Regions from separate parts of the Homo sapiens genome. Here region 1 is linked to region 2. The links are contacts of gene promoters, found by promoter capture Hi-C in human tissues and cell types (Jung and others, 2019). All regions are on one chromosome and are shown on one strand. Each heading gives the region's core, a stretch centred on a gene start or on the middle of the fragment in contact. The rest is flanking DNA. Distances are from core to core; before and after follow the strand shown. Region 1 overlaps DISP1 (dispatched RND transporter family member 1). Region 2 holds the start of DISP1 (dispatched RND transporter family member 1).

The links. Contacts are between HindIII fragments. The study calls those that stand out against the background at their distance.
Region 1: a fragment that was not itself captured here is called in contact with the fragment with the promoter of DISP1 in region 2 in 3 of the 25 tissues and cell types used here (adrenal gland, bladder and liver).

What each region holds. Positions count from the first base shown.
Region 1 is chr1:222,945,535-222,952,126 of GRCh38, reverse strand. The region is part of intron 3 of DISP1 (dispatched RND transporter family member 1); the gene reads right to left. It also overlaps the pseudogene NDUFB1P2. Among named protein-coding and RNA genes, the nearest start is that of DISP1, 130 kb to the right of the region's middle. The HindIII fragment of the contact is 5,022 bases long and covers 1-4,459 here.
Region 2 is chr1:222,811,431-222,818,626 of GRCh38, reverse strand. DISP1 (dispatched RND transporter family member 1) reads right to left here and starts at 3,588. Exons shown (of 9, transcript NM_001377229.1): 1 at 3,549-3,588. RefSeq lists silencers at 3,628-3,727, 3,818-3,897 and an enhancer at 4,138-4,197. The HindIII fragment of the contact is 9,383 bases long and covers 1-6,532 here.

The DNA of each region.
Region 1 (6,592 bases), core at 699-3,198, 140 kb before region 2:
CCAGCAGTTCCAGAGAGTCAACAATTTATATAAAAAATAAAGAGAAATGATTGTTTCACTATTAGTAATCAATCTTTCAATGGTAAGAGCGGAAAAGAGGGGAATATGAATTTGTAAAACTGTATAGTCTAGTTCTCTTTTACTATTAAAACTTTATACATAAAAATTTATACATAAAAGTTTACACATAAAACTTGCCTGTGCCTCTGTAAAAGCACTGGTATTTAACTTCTGTGCTCCAGAGAATACAACAGCTATTCTGTAAATACTTACCGATCAAAGATGGCAATCTATCTATGGTCACCCTATGCTAAAATCTAAGTGTCTTGTCTTGTCCACTCTACTTCTACATCTTTGAAGTCAGGAACCAGACTTTGCAGTTTCCACCTGTCTCCAGCACCTAACACTTACTAAGTACTCATCAAGCACTTGCTAAATAAGTGAATAACTAACTCTGAATTTCTCCATTCATTGCTGCAACATCTTAGAGAAGCATTTGAATGGACTCTGGGTGATCTGAGTAAAGCAGAGACTGTGGGATCTGCGTCAATGATCAGGTTCATGCCACAATGTTGATGAAGTGTTCAAAGTGATTTCTGGCTCAAATTTTCTGACTAACAAAATAATACAATCACCAGGGCTAAGGAGAGGGGAAAGGATGTCATGGTACAGCACATGCCAATAAACAAGAATTCTGGTGGTAGAATTCTTGTCTTTTTAATATAACATGAGAATTCTCATTTCTTACTTTTTTTTTTTTGTTTTAAAAGAGGCCCCTTCATAGAAAATAACTAATGCCCTAAGGGGAAACAAAAAGAAAACCTCTGAGAAAAATGAGTCAGAAATTAGAAAATGAATAAAGAAATGAAAGGAAATGTAAGTTATAAAAATTATACAGTCATAACATATGGGGGTGGCAGGGACAATATTTAGTTAACTTTAAGAGGCTAAGCTAGTCCCAGGGTTCTACGGTTCCCTCTACGCCAAGCATTCTTAACTCTGTATAGCTCTAATTCCTCTAGTGAGTCACATGAAACATTCAAAATGGCCATCTGTCTATGAAATCACCTTAGGTAAATAAAAATGCATTTGGCAGGTACCCAAAAATATCACAGGTTCCCTATCATGATAATGAGTCTGTGGCATTGCCAAGTATCATTTATGGAGTCCTCTGTTACAATCAAGAATATTTCTTTGCAACACCGAATTAAAAGGTAAGTATAGTTTAGATTAGAACTCTAGTGTGCTATTTTTGGATGCAGAACTCCTTATTAATTTTGCAATAATACCACTACTCTTTCACTTTAATACGGCAATAAGAAGATCCCAAATGAATAACTCAAAACTTGCTTCAACCAGCACACGTGGAATGTGACTGGCTTTTGAGAGGTATTTTCCAGCTCTCTGGAGGATAAAGAACAGATCATCAAATGGACTGTTCAGGACGTAGATTGGGGACACCCACAATGACCCTCCGCTCCCACAATCTTGTTCTCTTTACCTTTCTCACATGGGTTTTTTTTTTTTGAGACGGAGTCTCGCTCTGTCCTCGAGGCCGGAGTGCAGTGGTGCGATCTCAGATCACTGCAAGCTCTGCCTCCCGGGTTCAGGCCATTCTCCTGCCTCAGCCTCCCGAGTAGCTGGGACTACAGGTGCCCACCACCACGCCCAGCTAATTTTTTGTATTTTTAGTAGAGAAGGGGTTTCACTGTGTTAGCCAGGACGGTCTCGATCTCCTGACCTCATGATCCGCCTGCCTCGGCTTCCCAAAGTACTGGGATTACAGCGTGAGCCACTGCGCCTGGCCCTTTCTTACATGTTTTAAGAAATATTTTAAAGCTTTGGTTTTTGAAAGCTTTCCCTTCACAACTTTCCTCCACTTTCCATGTTTTGCCTCCTCGAGTCCCTTCATTCATTTCTAGTCATCTTTCAAGGGCCATTCATGTTCTGTTCTTCTCAGTCAGACTGTCCCTAACCTCAATAACCTACAGGGATCCTTCCAGGGGATCCTTCCCACCTCTCAACTCTTAGAGTTATTTATTGTTTCTACTGCAAAAGAAATATCTTCTTATTCTACTTATTTTATTTTTAATTCCCCAGGTGACTCCAAAGATGATCAGCTAGGTTTAGGACTTGTTGGTATAAGTCTTGCCTCATGGTGAGGAGAGACTATTTTCAGCCTTTTAAAATTCCTTATTGTGGCTGGGCGCTGTGGCTCATGCCTGTAATCCCAGCACTTTGGGAGGCTGAGGCAGGCGGATCACTTGAGGCCAGGAGTTCAAGACCAGCCTGGTCAACATGGTGAAACCCCATCTCTACTAAAAGTACAAAAATTAGCTGGGCGTGGTGGTGTGCGCCTGTAATCCCAACTGCTCAGGAGGCTGAGGCAGAAGAATCCGTTGAACCCAGGAGGTGGAGGTTGCAGTGAGCTGAGATCGTGCCACTGCACTCCAGCCTGGGCGATGGAGCAAGACTCTGTCTCAAAAAGAAACAAATAAATAAAATAAGATAAAATAAAATTCCTTATTGTTCTCAATTAGACATGTTAATTAAGGGCTGAATAATGTATATGAGGACAGGAATCTACAAATATAAAAGCCTGAAGCTTTAAAATGAAATCTAAAGCTTTAAAATAAAATCGATTTAAGCTACTTAATATTTGGCAATAATTAAAATAGACATATTAAATGTGATCCTTGCAATAATCTTTATTTTAATTTTATGTATTTTTTTTTTTGAGAGTCTCCCTCTGTCGCTCAGGCTGGAGTGCAGTGGTACGATCCTGGCTTACTGCAACCTCCACCTCTCGGATTCAAGTAATTCTCCTGCCTCAGCCTCCCAAGTAGCTGGGACTACAGGTGCGCACCACCACACCAGGCTAATTTTTGTAGTTTAGCAGAGACAGGGTTTCGCCATTGCTGGCCAGGCTGGTCTCGAACTCCTGACCTCAAGTGATTGGCCTGCCACAGCCTCCCAAAGTTCTGGGATTACAAGCTCAAGCCACCACGCCTGGCCTTAATTTTATTAATCGGAACACTAAAAAGGAATTTTTTTTTAAAAAAAACACACAGATGGTTGATATAATGAATCTTTTAGAAAGATTTATTAAAGCTTAAAGAATCAAGAGGGGATGAAAGAGAGTCTACTATACAAAAGGTGGTAAGTAGCAAATGGCCTACGTTAAAATTATATTTTCTATCTGATTGATTCTTTAAAACATTCTCTATGGCTTAAGTGCTTTATAAACAAATAAAAACTTTAGAAAACACTTTCAAATACAAACAGGTGGGCCCATTTGTGGTATAGGTGCAAATAACAATAAAAATTGATAGCACTTAGGATCTTCCATCACCATACAATTTTACTCTAAGGCGGTCAATGTTTAACACATCCTTTAAAGTAATGTGAAGTCATAAATACACCTTAAACATTAATTGAATAACATTTCATTAAGTACTTACTTGACCTTATCAATTTAAAAAGAACTTAAAAATTACATAGCAATAAACCACAATAAAGAAAACTAAAAAGACTTGAAGTTCCTGGTCGAGATCAACCTCTAGAACCTTTGTTACAGTAAGTTCCTGAAAGAGTTGCGTAGAATAATCAAAGGCAGTAAAGCATGGTACAACATCCTCATTTTCAGAATTCCTTACCAAGGACATCCTGTGCAGACTTTCCCAAACTGCCCTGTTCTCCCATACATAGATAGCAGCTCTATCGAAGAGCACATTTGCTTCTGTGGATATTTTATTGGTTGGGTAAAGGACGAGATAGCATCTCACTCAGTGCCTTGCCCATAGCACAATTCTGCAAATATAATACCTGCTGGCCTGAGTCAAAGTGCTTCAGTGTTCATTCTAAGATAACCCCCACCAGTATTGCCCTCAGTGCATTGTCATGTATTACTCAGCAACCTCATTCTTTCAAATAAGCTCAAGGGACATCACACTTTCACTGTTACTGTTACTCTGTAGTCCTCTCTGGAAGCTCAATGTCTCAGCTCTGTTTACTTAGTTCCCTTCTTCTGTCTTCCCCATTTTAGTGAATGGCATTACCATCTACCCAACCAGTTGCTCAAGCCAGGAAACTGAAAATCAGTTGTGATTCTTACTCCCTTTGCCCCTCCGATATCCAATCATCCACCAAATCTAGTAGATTCCACCTCCTAAATCTCTCTAGAATGAATTTATTTCTAAATCATGGTTCAAGTTATCACATTTCTCACTTGAACTACTGCAACAAGCCTTATAGTGTTCTTCCTATCTACAACGGTCCTGACCCAATTCAATCTACTCTCCACAATGCAAACGATGAAATTTCCTAAAATGTTTCTTACTGTGTTTTTTTTTTCTGCTTTAAAATTTATAATCTCACATCAATTAGGATGCCTACTCTTAAAAAAGAAAAAACAGATAAAATAACAAGTGTCGGCAAGGATCTGGAAACACTGGAACTTTTTGCACTGCTGGTGTAAAATGGTGCAGCCACTATGGAAAACGGTTCCTCAAAAAGCTAAAAACAGAATTACCATATGCTCCAGTAATTCCACTTCTGGTCTGAGCATATACCCAAAAGAACTGAAAGCAGGGACTTGAACAGAACCCAAGCTCATAGCAGCATTATTCACAATAGCCATGATACCTGAAAGATCGAAGTGTCCATCAATGAACTGATAAAATGTATTGTGTAATTGATAAAATGATAAAATGTAACTGATAAAATGATAAAATATAATATATAAATATACAATGGAATATTATTCAGCCTTAAAAAGAAAGGAAATTATGACACATGCTACAACATGAATGACCCTTGAAGACATTATGTGGAGTGAAATAAGCCAGACAAAAAAAAGGCAAATACTATAGGATTCAACTTATTTGAGGTATCTAGAGAAGTCAAATTCATGGAGACAAAAAGTAGAATAGTGGTTTCCAGGGGCAGGCAGAGTTATAATTTAGTGAGTATGGAGTTTCAGTTTGGGAAGATGAAATAGTTCTGGACAAAGGTAGTAGTGATGGGTGCACAACAAGGTGAATGTACTTAATGTCACTAAACTGTATACTTAAAAATGGTTAAAATATTAAGTTTTATGTTATGTATATTTCACCACAATAAAAAAAATCACAAACACACACAAATCTATAATGAGTCCTCATTAGCCTCAGGATGAAATCTAGAGATTGCCTTAATGTGGTTCACAATACCCTTCAGGATTTAGTCCTAGTATACCTCTCCTCTTGCTACCACTCTCTCTTCCACTAGGGTCCAGCCATATTGACCTATGCTGGAGCTGAGCTCACACCACCTTGTAAAAGTATTTGCACAAACTGTTCCCTCTGCCTAAAAGACAAGCCTCTTCAATTCTCTCTCCATCTGTAACTTTTCTTCATCTTTAGCCCTGTGTATTCCTTCTTGATAGTACTTACCACAATACTGTACCTGCCTATTTGCTTTACTGGCTCCCTTCCTACTAGTTTATAGCTGTATGAAGGCAAAAGAATGTCTCAACTTGTTTGGAATTATATCCTCGGTGCCTGGCACATATAAGAATTCAGTAAACATTGTGGATTATATAAGTAAATGTAGAAAATAGCAAAGTAATCATTGAGGCACAATAAAGTATGTAACATACACAAATGGACACATACCATTCCTCTGCAGGCATCTTTAAAATATTTTATGTCTGTTACAAACAGATAACCAAAAGGCTCAAATTCTTTTTTTTTTTTTTTTTTTTGAGATGGAGTCTCACTTTGTCGCCCAGGCTGGAGTGCAGTGGCGTGATCTCAGCTCACTGCAAGCTTCGCCTCCTGGGTTCACGCCATTCTCCTGTCTCAGCCTCCCAAGTAGCTGGGACTACAGGCGCCCGCCACCATGCCCGGCTAATTTTTTTTTTTTTTTTTGTATTTTTAGTAGAGACGGGATTTCACTGTGTTAGCTAGGATGGTCTCGACCTCCTGACCTCGCGATCTGCCTGCCTCCGCCTCCCAAAGTGCTGGGATTACAGGCATGAGCCACCACGCCCGGCCAAGGCTCAAATTCTTGAGATAAAATTCTAAATATAAAAAATTTCCTTCATACTAATCTACTTTCTTCTACAAATTTTTTTGATGGACAATTGTGGCAATTTTAAAGTTAATGTTTTTCAAATTAAGTATGAGTGTTTTTATTTCTCTCATAACTTTTAAAATGTAAACATTATATAGTTCAGCCACTGCCTTTACTTCCAAGCAACTTCTCCATGGGTGTCAATTCCCTTTTAAATAAAATACTATTTTTCCAGAAGGCAGTTAGCTTTTCATCATTCTTTCTCTTTAGATAACATACAAAGACAAATCCTATACGGACAAGTCTATGGACCCAGTGCTCATACACAGTCTCAAGTCAGTCCACCATGATTGCAAAAGCCCCAGTTCCAACAATGACCCCACAACCAAGGGTAGTGATGAGCTCAGCCACCTGCCTATCAGTTCGTTTTTTTAATGCCATTCTATTTCAAGTGTACACAGGGATCTCACTGCTTTTGAATTAGGTCAGTGAGAAATGCTAAGTCAAAATCCTGAAAATCTTGGCACAACCTTCCATA
Region 2 (7,196 bases), core at 2,339-4,838:
CTAAATTTCCAGCCTGCTGGTCTGACCTACAAATTTTGTACTTGCCAACTCCCACAACTGCATGAGCCAATTTCTTAAAATAAATCTCTTTTAAAAATACACATATATATGTGATATTGGTCTGTTTCTCCGGAGAACCATAATTATACACTAACACAGTGAAAATCAAACTGGTACTATTTTGCTTCAAGAGGCTCCACCAGGTCATTCACACAAGAGGTGGGAGGCTCCACCAGGTCATTCACACAAGAGGTGGGAGGGATTCCCCTCCCAGCCCTCTCCAGGTAACAAAGGAGTGCATCATCTGTGTGGTATTCAAAAACTATAATAACAACTAAAAGTCTTTCTGCTGTATTATCACCAGGAGCTGGCAATTCTAAACCTCAGTGCTAAAATACTCTTTCCAACTATAGCAGACAGCTCCCACCATCAAGACCCCTAGTATGTCACTGGTAGTGGTCAACTTCCCCCACCCCCCCATGCAAATCATTTATCCAATAGTTCTTCTATTCCTTAGGCTCTCAAAATTAAAAACAAAACTAATAATAACAACAAAGGTTAAGGGCAATCAGTGTGTTTTCTACAATATTTGCCATTGTGAGTTATAGCCTATCACTTTAACAGAAAAGTTCATCTACAGTGTAATGTGATGCCTCACTCAAAGCAAAACTGAGTCTATTTATATAATCCAACAAATTATGATTTAGTATTAAAAGTATTTTTAAAACAATAACCTAAACAAGAGGTTCACAGTCATAACTACATGCCTATAGGCTGGAAAATGTGCCAAGATTTATGGGATCAGATTCAGCAGAATGGACAGGGCCCTACTAACAGGACTGCAGTGATTCATCCCCTTTTGAGTCACTCTGAGGCCCAAGTCATCTTGGTCACTATTGGAGAAAAGGTCTAACTCACCAGAGGAAAAGGACAGAAAGTATTACTAAAAGCAGTCAACCCTGTGTGAGTCAACCTCATTAAGGGCCATGCTTTTCATCAGAGGCAGTGCAGCAGCTGGACCTTAAGTTAACAGATCAGCAGTCTTTCGTAGCTCCTCATCCAAAAACTGTACTTCCCCATTGTAACAAATATTCTTGATTCTATCAAGTGGCAGGAAATGGCTTTCTAACTAGAGTATGCCGATAATTGAGAACGTACTATATAATCAGAAAATTGATAACCAAAGGGCATAGAAGCAACGAGCTCAACTTAGCAAATTATTTCGTATTTTACAAACTAGAGATTAAGGAAGACAAATGTATGTGTATATGAAGACAGTGTTTTGGTTATCACTATTTTGATAGTTCTTCCAATACAGACACTGTACATATTTCAGAAATAAAAAGAAATAGTGAATCTATAAAATAGCCAGCAGTTCGCTGTACTTAATCAAAAACTGCCATTATTGGTTAAACTGTAAAATACATCTAAATCCTACGGAATAACAAAAATAATTTATCTAGAGAGAAAGCTAAATTTACTAAACAATTAGAAGAAAGAATACAATTCCAAAGATTTTCCGGAATACAGGGCAATCCAACCTCAACATACCATTCATATATATAGCTAGCCCAACTTGCCCAAGAGGGCAAGTGCTCTTGTGTTTCAACAACGAGCACTTCCTCCAACCATGAACTAATGTCTAAAGACTTGCATGCTTTCTCAAGTGCTTTATTTCTCAAAAACCATGGGAAAAGGCGGAAGAAAAATAAAATCAAGTCTTATCAGATAAACAATATTGTCTACTTAAACAAATAAGATTAAATTGAGACATATACAGAAATTAACATGGCAGTTAATTCAATTACTTTAGAGATCAGTGTTATCTCTTCATTTTGTAATTTGAAAACTTATTCAATATGCTCATTTACATGTTAAGGCACTGTTTATGTTTAGGCCTTGCTTTACACTTGTAAATATCAGCAGTCCTCCTAAACATAAGGACGTTATAACTGTGTATTTCACTCAAGCACAGATATTCAAGGCCATCAAGAATTTATAAGCTAGCAAGATATCGCAGTACCAATAAATATAAAATGTTCTAGTTTTCCTGAATTAGTTCAAGTCAGACCACCAAATCAGATCTAAAAGTTACCTGTACTAATACAGTAATTTTTAAAACAAAAACTTCTAACATTTGAAATGTGAAACACCTGAAACAAGCAAAGCAATCATCAGATCTCACCCTCCATCAGTGACAGTGTTATGATTCTTCCTAGCTACCTTGCTCACTTTGTGGCAAAAATCCAATTCACTTACTACCTACTTAAAAGCTAGGAGAATCTTTGTAATTACACTGAGTGAAACACTATATTATGTAGATTAGGAAGCACATATTAATCACATCCAATAAAACATAAATGCAAGGTAAATAATAACTAAATCAATAATTACCTTTGGTAATAATAATGAGCCCACATACCAAACACTGGCCACTGGGGAAAACTAAATGTGCTAATGTGCGTGTAACAACAGATCTTGGGTTATCAATATTTTTAAAAAACACTGACAATGGCAAATATTTATATATATATATATATATATATATATATATTTCCTTACAGCAGAAATAAAAAGGAACAGTAAAATCTTAAGAACTGCTAGTAATTTGCTGCACCCTGATGTAAAATTGCCTTTATTGGTTAAACTAAAAGACTAAACCCAACAAAATAGCTTTTAGAAAAAATGTGTTAGAAAGTTGGACAGAAAAACAATGAGTTGAAACTGCAAACATTGACAGCACTGGCTTTCCATGTGATTATCACCATAATTCTGAACGCATTTAGTTCATCCCATGACAAGGGAAATAAGACAAGCTAAACTCTGCAGGGTAGAGAAGAGTCCAAAAGGAAAACTTTGGTTGTCTTCCTTGGGTGAAGAGAACTCTCAACTACTATCAGTTTGACAAAGACACGCAGAATCTGGGTGAAGCAAGAATTCGAGCGGTCCCTAGGAATATACAATATTTTCCCGAAATCCACACGCGCGGAGCGGGATATATTTCTAAAAACAAAAAACAAACTGCATGAATTGCAAATGAAGCAATAGGAGTTCAGCATCCAATAGGTGGCTGGTCATCTTTCTGGTTCGTTAGGTCAAGACGTCCTTCTCACCTACGACCCTCAGAGAAGGACTGACTCCCTCCTCTGTAACCTCTCCCTGGAAGCCAACCTTTGCCATCTCCTGCCATCCTCTCAGTCAATCCGCCAGGACCCGGGACACGCCCCCACGAATGACTACTTTCCTCCGAGATGCAACTCTGCCCCGTGTCATCCGCAACCTCCAGTCTCAGGGCCTCTTTGGCCTCAGGGTCCCCGGTGCCTCCCTCCTCAGTCCCTAAAGGCTGCCCTTAGGGCTCTCCTGGTTCCCCGTTCTCAGTCCTGGCCCTTCTCTCAAGCCTGGGGTCCCGGATTTCCCTCCACACGCGCGGGAGATGCCGACTCTCCCGTCCCTACCCGGTCTCCCAGTCCCGCGGCGCCGGGCGGCGGCGCGCCGAAAGGCATCCACTGAGGAAACAAGTGCCTGCAACGTTCCGGCTGCGAACTCACCTCCAGTCCGGGCTCTCGGATGCTGGCCCGGAGCCGGGCTTCCGCCTGGCGCGGTCCGCGTCGCGAGCGGGACCGGAAGTCCCGCCCCTCGCCCGCTCCCGGCCCGCTCCCGGCCCGCTGGCCTCGCTTGACTACCGCTCCCCGGGAGAGGGATCGCCGGCGGCGGGCGACGGGCGGCTGGCAAGGGGCAGAGGGCAGAGGGGCTTGGCTTGAAAGGGCGAGGCAGGCGCCAAAAAAATTCCCTCTCGCGCTCCTGCTCTTTCTAGTGTATCCATCGACCAGTGTGCAAATGCTTGACCAAGCGTCTATTCTGCCCAAGCCCAGTGAGGCACAAGATGACTCAGACACTGACCTCTGTCCTCACAATCTAGTTAAAAGTTGACATAAGTAAAAACAGAAGTAAATCACGCCACAAGACAGTGTTTCTTCTTTCATTATTCAGATTATTATCACCTGCTATATAGGCCTGTGAACAACCAGGCACTGCTGTAGGGGCTGGGGATAGAGCGAACAGAGGACAGCCCCACTCTCGTGAGGCTTACACTCAGGGCGAGGAACTAGCTATAGAATAAATCGAACAGCGGCGGCTCCCTCGGGAGGCTTATGCACAGAAACAAAAATATATAAGCAATGAAACCATCAAGTGTTAGAGGCACTCTGGTGGTGCTGTAGGGAACGGTGCAATGTAGAGAGCTGGGCGGAGAAGGCTTTCTAGAAATAATGACTCTTCAATTGAGACTGAAATAAATGATGAATAAGAGTTAAAGGACAGGCACAGTGGAGAAGGGCATGCAGAGAAGAAGGACGTTATGGAGTGAGAGCTTGGCTTGTACCGGTAGCTGGCCAGGAGTTAAGCAAAGTGTCAGATGGCAGATGCAAGAGCAAGCATAATGAGAAGAGACAAGGCCAAATCATGAAGAACGTTGTGCCCTATGCTTAAAAATTTTGGACTTCAGAGACTCCGTGCAACGGAATCCGTGGGGTCATCTAAGGGAATAGACAAAACAGTGAGTCATGGGGTTGACTAGGGGGATTGTCCTAGTCATCAAAGAAAAATAATACATCATGAATAGCATGTTTTATCCTTGAGGGTGCTTTCTTGAACTGCCATACCCAGATGTAAAGGCAATAGACGGCTACCACAACCCTATAAAGGCAGGACCACAAGGGATCATACCCCTCAGGTTGCTGCATTGAGCAAATCACCCCAACCAACTGAGATGCTAACTGAAGTCACAGGGAACTATGGAATGGGCCCAGAAGAAAGAAGCTTCAACACCAGCTACAGTAATGAGGACTGTTGCATTTTTTGTTTGTTTTCTTTGCTACCAGTGTTTAATAAATACTCTCTTGCACACCAAGCCCTTTCTTTGCCTTTTTAAAAAGGAATGGTATAATACATACATTTTTCTTTTTTTCTCCTTTTGCCAGCAAAAGGCCATACATTGCAATATATGGAGATAGGATTACAGTAGAAGAAAATGAGGAATGGATATCGTGTAGAAAGTCTGTACTTAGAGGGCATAACATCAACTCTAAGTGAAGTAAAAGGTCACGCGTTTGGGTTTTCTCCCATTGGGAAGGTTAGTAGTCCATTTGTGGTGATACTTGAAATAACTGATTCACATAGCGGCAAGGTGTATTTTTGAAAGGATGGAAAGAAGAGAGTGTGTATGTGGTGTGATGTGGGGGGTGTGTGTGTGTGTGTGTGTGTGTGTGTGTGTGCCCACGCTGGGTGCCAAGAAGTAGAATGTAATAGACACTCTGTGAAATGTTTCCTTATAGCTTCTCACAATTCCTTTTTTTGTAGGAATGGCTGAAATACATAGAGGCAGTCCTTTTATGGGCCACATATGCACAAGCGACCATGTCCTAGTGTGACCAGCTACTCTGGTTTGCTAAAGACAGGGGGATACCAGGATGCTGGACTTTCGGTGCTTAAACTGGGATAGTTTTGCGAAAACTGAGACAAGTTGGTTGCGCTACCATGTCCCTTGTCTACATAACAGATTAATTCAGAGGTGGGCATATCCTAAACCAGACCATTTAGACTCTTTGCCCCAGAAATCTTAAATGAGGCATAGAGAAACACAGAGAGAATATAGTTACTCAGTAGAACTGAGTCACAAATGGCAGTTCCCTAAAGAAAAAATCTATTAACACCCTTTGCCAAAGATCCAGGACCTGCCCTGTTTCCTTTGGTTATAGGAGATATCCCTGTATAATTCCAAAACTTTTTTTTTTTTGGCTAGTCAAAGAAGATTGCTGCTGCTTGCAACCAAAATAATCTTAAGGAGCATATTCATTTCCAATCCTTGTTTAAGATAATGTGCTCCAAGAGTCTCTTCTGAATGGGCACTGAGCTGAACGAACCATACTCATTGCCACAGCAAACCAGACCAAATATGAACACTGAACTCAAACAGGCCTAGAAAGTCTCACATGCATGGATTTTGCAATGCACATATAGGGCTCCACTCTTGCATGCTAAATTAGAAATGTCCAAACCTAGAATTAGGTTAGGCATGAGTAAGATGTTCAAAACTGATGGGAAAAGGGGGAAAGCAACAGGAATGATGAGAAGGAAATAAGGATAAGGAGAGAAAGATGGAAAAAGAGAAGACTTATCTGAGAGGTGAACATCTTAGTTCCCTTCTTTTCAGTTTCTGATTCCCCAGTCCCTTATGAGATCCAGCTAAATGTTCTGCCCTTAAGTTCTACGAAAATTCCGTGTCCTTCCAGTAAACCCCCCATTTGGTTAAGAATCATTTTAGTAGGTTTCCCCTCCTAGCAATCAAACCCCAAGACATCAATTCACAAGACACAAGGTTGCCCACTCATTCTATAGCATGCACCAGAGTTCTGGAGCCACTTTCTCTCCTCAGACTCAAGAACAGGAGAAGGATTTGCACACCTCCATGGCTGCCTGGTCCATTCAGGAAAACTGTCACAATTACCATGGGTTAGATGACTTTAACTATTAAAATCACACAGGTGGGGAGAATCATGCAATCAGAGTGTAAAGTGGAAGGAGACTTTGGAAACCATGCATGTCAACAGAGGAAGGAACTAATGCCCTTCCAGCTAGGCATAGTGGTTTTCCTAAGGCTAAATAGTTCAGTAGTCCCAGAGACAGGATTAGCTAACAATCTCGTCTCTCAACAACTGAGGAAACTACTGTGAAATCCTTGAAAGTGCACTATTCAGTCTCCTCCCACTCAGCTCCTGATCTTTGGAGTTTACCCACATCTGTATAATGGCATCAGCCTGACTGCGGAACTGTGAGAGCTGTTCAAAAGCCATTTGTGGGTGACAGTAGATAGTGAATATGTTAATCTGAATCAGGAGAGAAAATTTTAAGGAAAATTTTCCTACTTTTTTTTTCCGTACTCGCCAACTGGCTCAAACAGGTAGATGGGTTAATTAACAGAGCTAATAAGGTTAGTTATTCATAAAGTTTATTTACACATTCTACATTCTCTTTAGTTCATACATGGGTATATGTCGTTTCCTTACTTTTTTTTTTTACCACCAACATAAACATCGATATATTTGCAGTTATGTCTAAAACTATATCCTCGTCCCTTTGTAATTTAGTGGCAATTTACTAAATTACTACTAAATCCAGTAATTTAGAAATTTGTGGCA